Linked DNA regions of Homo sapiens: region 1 is linked to region 2. The links are contacts of gene promoters, found by promoter capture Hi-C in blood cells and fetal thymus (Javierre and others, 2016). All regions are on one chromosome and are shown on one strand. Each heading gives the region's core, a stretch centred on a gene start or on the middle of the fragment in contact. The rest is flanking DNA. Distances are from core to core; before and after follow the strand shown. Region 1 overlaps ZDHHC5 (zDHHC palmitoyltransferase 5). Region 2 holds the start of YPEL4 (yippee like 4).

What was found. The method cuts DNA at HindIII sites, captures the fragments that hold promoters and counts their contacts. A CHiCAGO score of 5 or more calls a contact.
Region 1: a fragment that was not itself captured here is called in contact with the fragment with the promoter of YPEL4 in region 2 in 1 of 17 cell types (neutrophils); the score reaches 5.3 in neutrophils.

Annotation. Positions count from the first base shown.
Region 1 is chr11:57,687,730-57,694,503 of GRCh38, forward strand. ZDHHC5 (zDHHC palmitoyltransferase 5) reads left to right here. Exons shown (of 12, transcript NM_015457.3): 4 at 779-936; 5 at 2,302-2,474; 6 at 2,606-2,708; 7 at 4,882-4,973; 8 at 6,054-6,186. Among named protein-coding and RNA genes, the nearest start is that of MED19, 21 kb to the right of the region's middle. The HindIII fragment of the contact is 3,064 bases long and covers 1,129-4,192 here.
Region 2 is chr11:57,648,501-57,654,807 of GRCh38, forward strand. It overlaps YPEL4 (yippee like 4), which reads right to left and starts at 1,412. Exons shown (of 5, transcript NM_145008.3): 1 at 1,185-1,412. It overlaps MIR130AHG (MIR130A host gene), which reads left to right. Exons shown (of 2, transcript NR_186232.1): 2 at 1,798-4,401. The HindIII fragment of the contact is 14,007 bases long and covers 1-6,307 here.

The DNA.
Region 1 (6,774 bases), core at 1,411-3,910, 40 kb after region 2:
AGAGTAGGGGAAGACATTTTGGGAAAGTTTTTTTTTTTTTTTTTTTTTTTTTTAAGATGAAGATGAAGTCTTGCTGTGTTGCCCAGGCTTGAGTGCAGTGGCGTGATCTCAGCTCACTGCAACCTCCACTTCCCGGGTTCAAGCGATTCTCTTGCCTTAGCCTCCTGAGTAGCTGGGACTACAGGTGCATGCCACCACACCAGGCTAATTTTTGTGTTTTTAGTAGAGACGAGGTTTCACCATGTTGGCCGTGCTGGTTTTGAACTCCTGAGCTCAGGCAATCCGCCCTTCTCGGCCTCCCAAAGTGTTGGGATTACAGGCGTGAGCCACCATGGTTGGCTGGGCAAAGGATTCGTGCCTGGAAAAAAAGGTTGATGTTAGTTCCTCTCTTGGATTGCTATAGTTCACTCATATAAATGTAGATACTGAACTCTTATGCAAACTCATTATGTATGTGCTTTGATATGTAAACTATTTCTTTAAAATATATTCATATACTTAAACCAAATAACACCAGCAGATGCATACAAGAGCTACCTCTTGAGTCATTTTATCTCGAACCTCACTTCCCAATGCAGAATAAATTGCTCCCTCATCCATGTTCCCATAGTGTTGTATAAAGACCTGACCTCACAGTCTTATAGTTCCTAGTTCCTAGTCTCACTCATTAGACTGTGAATTCCTCAAAGGCAGAAGCTATATTTTAAACATCATTGAATCCCTAGCACTTACTACAGTTCTGGCATAGTTGTTTTTAATTGACTTTTCCTCTCTACAGCTGAGGAGGATGAGGACAAGGAAGATGATTTCCGAGCTCCCCTTTACAAAACAGTGGAGATAAAGGGCATCCAGGTGCGCATGAAATGGTGTGCCACCTGCCGCTTTTACCGTCCCCCTCGATGTTCCCACTGCAGTGTCTGTGACAACTGTGTGGAGGTAAGCACCCTGGGTGGGGTAAGACTTCATGCTTAACCTTCATTGTCTTCATCCTAACCATATAATAGATTCTTAGCTTTGGATGTGGTATAGTCCTGTCTAACTACGTTGGCCACATGGTCCAGCTCTGTCAAATGGTGTTAATAATGACATGGCATGAGAGGCAGAGCATAAATATTATTGCAGGAGGGAAGCTTTAACTCAATATGGGCATAGGCTTTCTTTTTTATTTATTTTTACTTTTTGTAGTGATGAGGTCTCACTGTGTTGCTTGGACTATCTCAAATTCCTGGCTTCAAGTGATCCTCATGCCCTGGCCTCCCAGAGTGCTGAGTGCTGGGATTACAGGCATGAGCCATTGCACTAGCAGGGTGTAGGCTTTCTTGACACCAAGATTTATAGTTCTAGCCTTCTATCTATTGGCTCAGTTTTGGTTATTTATCCTGGCTTTGCATTTTCTCTTCCAGAAAATCATGCTGTTGTGTTTCAATTTGTTGTAGTTGTTTTCCTGCCTGTCCTTCTGCATCCCTTGTCCTTTTTCCATTCCATTTTCACTTAGCTATAAGCAGTTACCTGCCAAATCTTCCTTCTAATCCTCTTTTCTTATGAATCTTGATGTTTCTGCAAAACCTCTGACATTCGTCACTTTTAGAGTTCCTTGGTCACATAGGATAAACATTGAGAGCCGGCCTTGGTCTTTTTTATATATATATATATTTATTTATTTATCGAGACGGAGTCTCGCTCTGTTGCCCAGGCTGGAGTGCAATGGCGCAATCTCGGCTCACTGCATCCTCCGCCTCCCGGGTTCAACCGATTCTCCTGCCTCAGCCTCCTGAGTAGCTGGGATTACAGGCACGCGCTACCACGCCCGGCTAATTTTTGTATTTTTAGTAGAGATGGGGTTTCACCATGTTGGTCAGGCTGGTCTTGAACTCCTGACCTCGTGATCTACCCGCCTCGGCCTCTCAAAGTGCTGGGATTACAGGCGTGAGCCACCGCGCCCGGCCAATTTTTTTTTTTTTTTTTTTTTAAGAGATGGGGTCTTGCTATGTTGCCCAGTACAGTGGCTATTCACAGGCAGTCATCATAGTTCACTACAGCCTTGAACTCCTGGGCTCAAGCCCCAGCCCCCCAAGTAGCTGGGACTACAAGTGTGCACCACTACGCCTGGTTGGCCTTGGCCTTTGACCAACCTCTGGAAGGTCTCCCTTGCAGATTTATAGAGCAAAATAAACTGGATTTAATTTTGAACTAATTGGTGACCATGATCAAAACTTAGCTGCCATTTGTTTCTCTTCTTGACAGAAGTAATTTAATGCTATGGTCCAGGGATGCCTCTCATCTGTCTCTCTTTGTCCCTAGGAATTTGATCATCACTGCCCCTGGGTGAATAACTGTATTGGTCGCCGGAACTACCGTTATTTTTTCCTTTTCCTCCTTTCCCTGACAGCCCACATTATGGGTGTGTTTGGCTTTGGCCTCCTTTATGTCCTCTACCACATAGAGGAACTCTCAGGGGTCCGCACGGCTGTCACGTATCCTTCAAGGCCTTTTAGATTGTGGGATTGGAAGGGGGAGGAATGAGGGCTAAAGGGAAAATGGCTGCAGTAGGGGCCGGGGAAAGTGAGGTCATGTTGCTCTGTTCTCCTTGATTGTTTGGCATCAGAATGGCAGTAATGTGTGTGGCTGGCTTATTCTTCATCCCTGTAGCTGGCCTCACGGGATTTCACGTGGTTCTGGTGGCCAGGGGACGCACAACCAATGAACAGGTATGGAGAAAAGTGACGAGAGACCCCTGAAGAGCAGGTCATGTCTCTTTAGCCTTCTGATTAGTGTGCAGTGTAGTGCTTCCACAAAGAGATGCTTAATGAATACTTTTCATGATTATGTAGAGATTAATGGTAGGGAGTGAGGTAGTCCTAGTTCCTCATGTAAGTGTAGAGGCCATGTAAGAATAGAGGCCATTTCTCACATATACACCATGGAATACTATGCAGCCATAAAAAAGGATGAGTTCTTGTCCTTTGTAGGGACATGGATGAATCTGGAAACCATCATTCTGCGCAAACTGTCGCAAGGACAGAAAACCAAACACCGCATGTTCTCACTCATAGGTGGGAACTGAACAATGAGAACACTTGGTCACGGGGTGGGGAACATAACACCCTGGGGCCTGTTGTGGGGCAGGGGGAGCGGGGAGGGATAGCATTAGGAGATATACCTAATGTAAGTGACGAGTTAATGGGTGCAGCACACCAACATGGCACATGTATACATATGTAACAAACCTGCATGTTGTGCATATGTACCCTAGAGCTGTAAGTATAATAATAATAAAGATACTCTCAAAGAGATACTAAGACAATAGAGATAAAGGCTGAATTTTGCCCTAAAATATCTTTTTTTATTTTTTATTTTTTTGAGACAGAGTCTTGATCTGTCGCCCAGGCTGGCATCCAGTGGCGTGATCTTGGCTCACTGCAACCTCTGCCTCCTGGGTTCAAGCGATTCTCCTGCCTCAGGCTCCCAAGTAGCTGAGATTACAGATGTGCATCACCACGCCCAACTAATTTTTGTATTTTTAGTAGAGACAGGGTTTCACCATGTTGGCCAGGCTGGTCTCGAACTCCCGACCTCAGGTGATCCACCCACCTCAGCCTCCCAAAGTGCTAAAATATCTTTTATTTATTTATTTATTTATTGTAATTTTAGTAGACACGGGGTTTCACCATGTTAGCCAGGATGGTCTCGATCTCTTGACCTCGTGATCCGCCCACCTCGGCCTCCCAAAGTGCAGGGATTACAGGCATGAGCCACTGCGCCCAGCCTAAAAATATATTTTATAACAAAATAATATCTATCTCCAAAGAAAGTCTTGGATGGTTTGGCATCATCACCTGAAATATCAATTGAGAGACCCAAACCAAACTGAAACTAGACAATATAGCATAAAGAATAAGATGATAGTTTTTTAAACAATACTCACCATAGAACTTGGTATCCAAATAATAGTATTCTTTCTTTAGTTTGTCAAAAATCATATTAATAGATTTTTAAATTTAAAGTGTAGCAAGACATATGTATATGTACATATATGTTCATATACATATAAATATTTAAGATCTTCCTAAAAAAAAAAAAGAATAGAGGCCACTTCTTAGTTAACAGACATTTACTATATGCCCACTGGATACTGGAGAATTTAGGCTCTGAGTTTATAGAAACAATGAAAGACTTAGGCTAGCCCTCAAGAAGCTTATAGTGCTGCTTACAGGAAAGCAATGATTTTTGTGCATATAATAGTAGCTAACCTTAATTGCTTTTTTTTTTTCTTTTTTGAGACAGAGTATCGCTTTGTCACCCAGGCTGGAGCCCACTGGCTGGAGCCCACTGGCTGGGGCGCAGTGGCACGATCTCGGCTCACTGCAACCTTTGCCTCCTGGCTTCAAGCAATTCTCCTGCCTCAGCTACCCAAGTAGCTGGGATTGCAGGTGCCTGACACCATGCCCGGCTAGTTTTTATATATTTTTATAGTAGAGATGGGGTTTTGCCATGTTGGCCAGTTTGGTCTCAAATTCCGGACCTCAGGTGATCCACCTGCCTCAGCCTCCCAAAGTGCTGGGATTACAGGTGTGAGCTGCCATGCCCAGCCCTTAATTGCTTATTCTTTATCTTAGTTTTCAATATTTAGAAAGCTATCCCATTTTACATGAGGAAACTGAGGTTTTGGGTCAGCAACCATGAGGTAGACCTAGGATTTGAACTAAGGACCCTGACTGTAGATTCCCTGCTCTTAACCATAACATATATAAATTTCTTGTGTTTTACTCATTTGCATAGCCCTCAGATAGTGAGTGCACAATAACTTGTAATAGATTTGTATTTTGGCCTTTGGAAGTCAAGGTCTCATCTTCTAACCTGGTATTTTTTTTCTCCCTCTAGGTTACGGGTAAATTCCGGGGAGGTGTGAACCCCTTCACCAATGGCTGCTGTAACAATGTCAGCCGTGTTCTCTGCAGTTCTCCAGCACCCAGGTACACCTATCCCTCTGGTCTAGTGTTTACCATTGGTCAGAACTTTTATCTTCTTTGGGCTTGTTCTGGTAAAGGAGGGGTCTGGTGAGAGCCTTTAGGAAGGGTTCTCTATCTTAGAATGTTAAGTACCCACTCTATCTTAGAATGGTAAGTAGTCTATCTTAGAATGGTAAGTACCTACATGCCCATCCTTTAGTGCAGTGGTCCCTAACCTTTTTGGCAGCAGGGACCGGTTTCATGGGAGACACTTTTTCCACAGATGGGGGCTGGGGTGGGGTGGTTTCAGGATGAAACTGTTCCACCTCAGATCATGAGGCATTAGATTCTCATGGCTGGGTGTGGCGGCTCACACCCAGCACTTTGGGAGGCCGAGGTGGGCGAATCACTTGAGGTCAGAAGTTCAAGTCCAGCCTGGCCAATATGGTGAAACCCCTTCTCTACTCAAAATACAAAAATTAGCTGGGCAAGGTGGCAGGCACCTGTAATCCCAGCTACTTGGGAGGCTGAGGCAGGATAATTGCCTGAACCCAGGAGGCAGAGGTTGCAGTGAGCTCAGAGCACACATACAACCTAGATTGCTTGCATGTGTAGTTTACAACAGGGTTCTAGGGTTTGCGCTCCTAAGAGAATCTAATGCCTCCGCTGATCTGACAGGAGATGGAGCTCAGGTGATAATGCTCACTGGCCCACTGCTTACCTCCTGCTATGTGGCCCAGTTCCTAACAGGCCATGAACCGGTACTGGTCTGCGGCCCAGGGGTTGGGGACCCCTGCTTTAGTGGACACTGTGAATTCCATTGATATTCTTCAGGTATTAAGGTAAATCTTTGAGAATTGAGGGTGAATAAGATACACTCTAAAGTGCTTTCCTTGAGCTAGGTATCTGCTCACAAAGGCCTAGTCCTGCTGCAGTCCTTCACAGAATCAATTCTGTTTATTGCTAAGTAAGTGATGGCCAAAACTGCAATTACTTTTTTACCAACCTAATAAAAATGGTTTACAGAAACAGTAGATACTTTAAAATATAAATGAATGAAAGCTCTCTCGCTGTGTCTCTCTCTCTCTCTCTCTCGACACTTAGGTATTTGGGGAGACCAAAGAAAGAGAAGACAATTGTAATCAGACCTCCCTTCCTTCGACCAGAAGTTTCAGATGGGCAGATAACTGTGAAGATCATGGATAATGGCATCCAGGGAGAGCTGAGGAGAACAAAGGTGAGGAATTTAGAGAAGTCAAGCTAGATAACATGGAAGTCTCACCCAAGGCAAAGAGACGGAAGCTTGCTTTAGTTTCCTTTGTGTTTTTTTTTTTTTTTTTGAGACAGAGTCTTGCTCTGTTGCCCAGGCTGGAGTGCAGTGGTGCTCAGTGCAAACTCTGCCTCCCAGGTTCAAGCAATTCTCCTGCCTCAGCCTCCCGAGTAGCTGGGATTACAGGTGTCCGTCACCTTGCCTGGCTAATTTTTGTATTTTTAGTAGAGATGGGGTTTTGCCATGTTGGCCAGGCTGGTCTCGAACTTCTGACCTCAGGTGATCTGCCCACCTCGGCCTCCCAAAGTGCTAGGATTACAAGCATGAGCCACCACGCCTGGCCCATATTTCTTACAGTGTTTATCACTTACTAATTTGGGTTAAAATTACTTAAATACAAATCTTGTTTTCTACATTAGATTTTTTTTTTTGAGAGGGAGTCTTGCTCTGTTACCTAGGCTGGACTCCAGTGGTATGATCTCAGCTCACTGCAACCTCTGCCTCCCAGGTTCAAGCGATTCTCGTGCCTCAGCCACCTGGGTAGCTGGGACTACA
Region 2 (6,307 bases), core at 162-2,661:
GCCTAAGTCTGGTTCAGAGATGCCAGCTGGGCACTCTGGCAATGCTAGAGCACTAAGCAGAGAAGAGGCAGTGTTGGCTCTGGTTAGCCAGGGCATACAGGCTCTCCTCGTCCTGTCCTCCGCAGTGGCCACAGGCACCCAGCTGTTCCACTCTCTCTGAAGGCCGCCAGGCAGTCTCTCCGCAAAACCTCCATAGAGACTATCTTCAGTTTCAGGTCCTCTCCTCCGGGCTGGGTCCCAGGAAGACACCTTGGGCTGAGTTCAGGGTGACATTGGGCTCCGGCTGCAGGAAACGGGCCCTCCTTGCCAAGAGACCACCTTTCAGTCTCTGCTTCACAGGTTTGCCTTCAACTTTGCCAGCGAGTTCCCCTCTGACATGCACCACCTTGAAACACCTTCTTCAAGGGGCATGGAGAATGGGGCAGCTTGGGTCCCCAATCCTGAGCTCCTTCTCCAGCCTCCGGCCGTCACGCCTCCCTCCCTCTCCCCTAATTCCCAGTCAAGCCAAGGAAAGGCTGCACAGAAGGCCAGAGAATCACAAAGGGGAGTAGGGGTCATTTTTTCACCCATCTCGGATCACAGGGAGAAGCAAGTTGGGCAAATGACTGGAGAAAAAACAAAGGCAAGCCGAGTGCTGGGGAGAGATGTTCCCCTGAAGTGAGACGGGGCTGGACCGTAGGAGAAAGGGGAGAGGGAGGGCTGGCGGGGGCAACTGACAGCTGACAGCAGAGGCGCCGAGGCGGAGGCTGGAGGAACCAGGTGCGAATCTCGTGCTTCTCAGGGGGGAAAAGAAAAGGGGGGGGACACCTGCTCACAATGGATTTTCTCATCTGCTCTGAGGTTTTGGCACCCCCCAGGCTGGTATTCTCAGTATGGTATGGTCCAAATAATTAGCAGCACCGCCAGCTCCCAGGGCAGGCTTTGGGGGTCTGCACCAGCAGCAAAACAATAAACAGTGATGCCTGATGCTGCAGCCAAAGTTGCCGGGAAATAAGTGCGGGAATCGTCAGAGCTTGGAGAGGGATGGAGGAACCGAGAGAGAGGAGCGGAGGCAGCGGGGAGGGGGAAGGGAGGACAAAGGGTGGATGAATAATGCTTTTGCAAAGGGGAGAAAGCAACACGCAGCAGGAGGAGGAAATTTGCAAAGAGAAAAAAATTCATTTGGAGAAGGGCTGCCCCCTCACCTTGAGGTCTGCTCCAGAGATCTCCGTCTATCTCTCTCTCTCTCTCTCAATCTCTCAATCTCTCTGCTCACTCTTCTCTCTTCTCTTTCCGCTCCTTCAATTGGGAAGGGGATGGGGGTGGGTGGGGGGAGGGTAGTTGGGGGCTCAAGACTGGGGCTGCAAAGCTGGCCAGCTGCTGGGGGGGCAGAGGTTGTCTCTCGTTCTGTACCTCGGTCTGTGGGTGAATGTGGCTGTGTGTTGTGGAACTGCATCATAACACTGTGAGTCATCCATCCCCCCCACCCCCCCTCACCTCCCACGTCAGAGCAGGGCTGGGAGACACAGGAGGCGGGTCGGAAGGAAGGGAGGGGGTAGGCATCAAGGGACGGGGCTAGAGGAGTGGGGGCCGAGGGACAAGGCGGCGATGGTGGGCAAGGGGAGAGGCAGGTTGTTAAGGAGGAAGGCAGTGGGGCCAAGGAGATACGAAGAACCTGGGGGAAGGACAGGGCTGGGCAAGGATGCAGTGAGGGTGGCAGGGCTGGAGGAAAGGAGGTGGCAAGGCTGGTGAAGGAAGAGATGGATGCAGAGTGAGGGAGCACACACACATTTAAGATGATACACTTTCCCATTTCAGCTTGGACACCAGCCCTGAAGCAGGGAAAAGACAGATGTACTAATTGTCATGGATGGCAAACTGTGCCCCCAAACTTGTACCAAGCCTCAAAGCCTTGGTTTAATACTCCTGAAGGAGTAATAGACCCAATGTGACATTTTGCATGCAGGAACCCCTTAACAGCTACCTCCATATTATGCGTGCTTCATGAATGGAGACACCTACGTTATATGAAGTTCTCTATTGGGCTGTAAACTTCCTGAGACAGGCCTTCTGGGAAATTACTCTCTACATCCCAGGACTGCAATGTCCAGTGCAGACCCGTGCATTTAGATGTTTCCAAAATAGCAGTTGTTTCCGCGGCATTATGTTCTGCTGGCCTAGAGGTCTTAGTTCCAGAGGGAGGAATGCTGCCACCAAGAGACACAACAATGATTCCATTAAACTGGAAGTTAAGATTGCCACCTGGCCACTTTGGGCTCTTCTTACTTTTAAGCCAACTTGCTAAGAAGGGAGTTACAGTGTTTGACCCAGACTATCAAGATGAAATCAGTCTACTACTCCACAATGGCGGTAAGGAAGTATGCGTGGAATACAGGAGATCACGTAGGGCGTCTCTTAATATTACCATGCCCTGTGATTAAGGTCAATGGGAAACTGCAACAGCCCAATCCAGGCAGGATGACAAATGGCCCAGACCCTTCAGGAATGAAGGTTTGGGTCACTCCACCAGGTAAAAAAAACATAATCTGCTGAGGTGCTTGCTGAAGGCAAACGGAATTCAGAATGGGTAGTCAAAGAAGGTAGTCATCAATACGAACTATGACCATGTGACCAGCTGCAGAAAATGAGGACTGTAATTGTCATGAGTATTTCCTCCTCCTTTTGTTAGGAACATGTTTGTGCATATATACACTTGTATTAAGAAAATATCTTCATTTTATTTCCTTTCTTTTGCCTTTATCATGTGACATAAGACTTACTGACTTGATATCAGCACTTAAGTGTTGTTAACTCTATGTAATAGCATTTGGGTTGGGGATTGGTGCGTTTCCGGTTGTACAAAGGATAGCTGTATTATGTTAAGCGTAATTATGACCTTATTATTGTCTTTATTTGAAGATCATGTATGATTTCAGGAGACGTGTATGGGTTCAAGTTGACAAGGGGTGGACTGGTGATGGTTAATATTGTCAACTAGATTGGATTGAAAGATGCAAAGTATTGTTCCTGGGTGTGTCTGTGAGGGTATTGCCAAAGGCGATTAACATTTGAGTCAATGGACTAGGAAAGGCAGACCCACCTCAATCTGGATGGGCACAATGTAATCAACTGTCAGCTAGGCCAGAATAAAAGCAGACAGAAGAACGTGGAAAGACCAGACTGGTTTAGCCTCTGAGCCTACGTCTTTCTCCCATGCTGGACGCTTCCTGCCCTCGAATATTGAACTCCAAGGTCTTCAACTTTGGGATTCGGACTGGCTTCCTTGCCCCTCAGCTTGCAGGCAGCCTACTGTGGGACCTCATCTGGTGATCATCTGAGTCAATATTCCGTAATAACTCTGATTTATATATACATCTATCCTATTAGTTCTATCCCGCTAGAGAACTCTGATTAATAGAGCAGTTGAGTTGCATCTTCAGACATGAACCAAGTGTCTGGCTTTGGTCTCAAAGAGACTGAATTAGACTCTTAGCTCTGCCAATTACTTGGCAGGAACCACTAGGCAAATTACTGATAATCTTTGTGCCTTAGTCTTACTCTTCTGCTAAATGAAGCTAATAATATTTATTATTATTAGCTCATGGAGATGCAGAATAAAGTGAGATAACATTTAAATGCCTGAAAAATGCCTGGCACATGATAGGCAGTAAACAGTAGTGTCATTTCAAAACAACATTCTCGCCAGGTGCGGTGGTTCACGCCTGTAATCCCAGCACTTTGGGAGGCCGAGGCAGGCAGATCACAAGGTCAGGAGATCGAGACCATCCTGGCCAACATGGTGAAATCCCCATCCCTAATAAATAACAAAAATTAGCTGGACATGGTGGCACGTGCCTGTAATCCCAGCTACTCGAGAGCCTGAGGCAGGAGAATCGCTTGAACAGGAAGTCAGAGGTTGCGGTAAGCTGAGATGGCGCCACTGTACTCACAGAGGTTGCAGTGAGCCGATCGCGCCAGCCTGGTGACAGAGCGAGACTCTGTTTCAAAAAAAAAAAAAGCATTCTTGGCTGGGTGAGGTGGCTCACACCTTGTAATCCCAGCACTTTGGGAGGCCGAGGTAGGCGAATCACCTGAGGTTGGGAGTTCGAGACCAGCCTGGACAACGTGGTGAAACCCCCCTCTCTACTAAAAATACAAAAAATTAGCCAGGTGTGATGGCGTATGCCTGTAATCACAGCTACTTGGGAGGCTGAGGCAGAAGAATCGCTTGAACCCAGGAGGCGGAGGTTGCAGTGAGCCAAGATGGGACCACTGCACTCTAGCCTGGGCAACAAAGAGAGACTCCGTCTCAAAAAAAAAAACAAAACCAAAAAAACAAAAGTGAAACCAAAACAGCATTCTCAATGTATGACCCCCAAAACCCAGGGAGGATTTATTATTAAATTCTGATATCTCAAGAGACACATGCCAAATTTTTGTCTTATGAAGACATTACATCTTTTGTTGCTATTTTTCTAGCAGCTTCCAGTTAAATTTCATTTGACTCAGAATTCATTTCTCATGGGGTGCTGTCCTGTGCATGTTACTAAAGTATGTGAACACAGAACATATCCCCTAAGACAAAAACCCTGATTTCTAACAGAGTCTAGCATTTAGCAAATGAAGTACGACAAAGATAGGGACTTCTAGAAAGCAGTGCTTGGGGGTGGTTTGTTTTTCTTCTCACACGTAAAGAGGGAAAAAAAAGTTAAGGCAGAGAAATGTGGGTAATGGGAGACATTGCTAGTTGAGCATGAAAATAAAAAGGGATTCTAAATATTTAATCAGGGAAGATTCTGGGGTTTAAAGTAAATTCTGAAAAGACAATGTGGGTGTCTTGAGGGATAGTACTAGAGATTTGGAATTGAGAGAAAAAGCTAGGTAAAGAAAGAAGAGAGAAGTGCTTTTGTTTGGGCAGCAGAAGAGAGGGGAGATAAAAGTAGAACACATGGACACAGGAAGGGGAACATCACGCACTGGGGCCTGTTGAGGGGTGGGGGGAGGGGAGAGGGATAGCATTAGGAGATATACCTAATGCTAAATGACGAGTTAATGGGTGCAGTACACCAATATGGCACATGTATACATATGTAACAAACCTGCACGTTGTGCACCACATGTACCCTAAAACTTAAAGTATAATAATAATAAAATTTAAAAAAAAAAGAAAAAAAAAGATTTTGAAAAGCAATTGTTGAGGAGAACAATGAGAAGTGGGAAAAGGCAAATGATTAGTTTTCAAGGCATGGATCGAAAGTTCTTTTGTTTTGTTTGTTTGTTTGTTTGTTCTTTGAAATGGAATCTCGCTCTGTTTCCCAGGCTGGAGTGCAATGCCATGATCGAGAATCACTGCAACCTCCGGCTCCCGGGTTCAAGTGATTCTCCCACCTCAGCTTCCTGAGTAGCTGGGATTACAGGCATGTGCCACCATGCCTGGCTAATTTTTGTATTTTTCGTAGAGACGGGATTTCACCATGTTGGTCATGCCGGTCTCGAACTCCTGATCTCAAGTGATCCACCCACCCTGGCCTCCCAAGGTGCTGGGATTACAGGCGTGAGTCACTGGGCCCAGCTCGGATTCAAAGTTTGGAAGCAGGCCGGACACCTGTAATCCCAGCACTTTGGGAGGCTGAGGCGGGCAGATGACCCTGAGGTCAGGGGTTCAAGACCATCCTGGCTAACATGACAAAACTCCTTCTCTACTAAACATACAAAAATTAGCTGGGCATGGCAGCGGGCGCCTGTAATCTCAGCTACTTGGGAGGCTGAGGCGGGAGAATTGCTTGAACCCGGAAGGCGCAGGCTGCAGTGAGCCGAGATTGCGCCACTTCACTCCAGCCTGGGCAACAAGAACGAAACTATGTCTCAAGAAAAAGAAAGAAAGAGAGAGAGAGAAAGAAAGAAAGAAAGAAAGTTTGGAAGCAAAAAGAAAATGATCAAGGATCTAGCTGGAGAGGAGAAAAAGAACATATGATGACGGTATTGTTTGGAGGTGGGGTGGAGATGGCAGGAGTGCTTGGTGAAAGATTAAAACTGAGAAAAGAGCTGGGCGCCGTGGCTCACGCCTGTAATCCCGACATTTTGGGAGACCGAGGCAGGTGGATCACCTGAGGTTAGGAGTTCGAGACCAGCCTGACCAACATGGTGAAACCCTGTCTCTGCTAAAAATAGAAAAATTAGCTGGGTGTGGCAGTGGAAACCTGTAATCCCAGCTACTCGGGAGGCTGAGGCAGGAGAACCGCTTGAACCCGGGAGATGGAGGTTGCAGTGAGCTGAGATCGCACCACTGCAATCCAGTCTGGGAGACAGAGTAAGACTCCATCTAAAA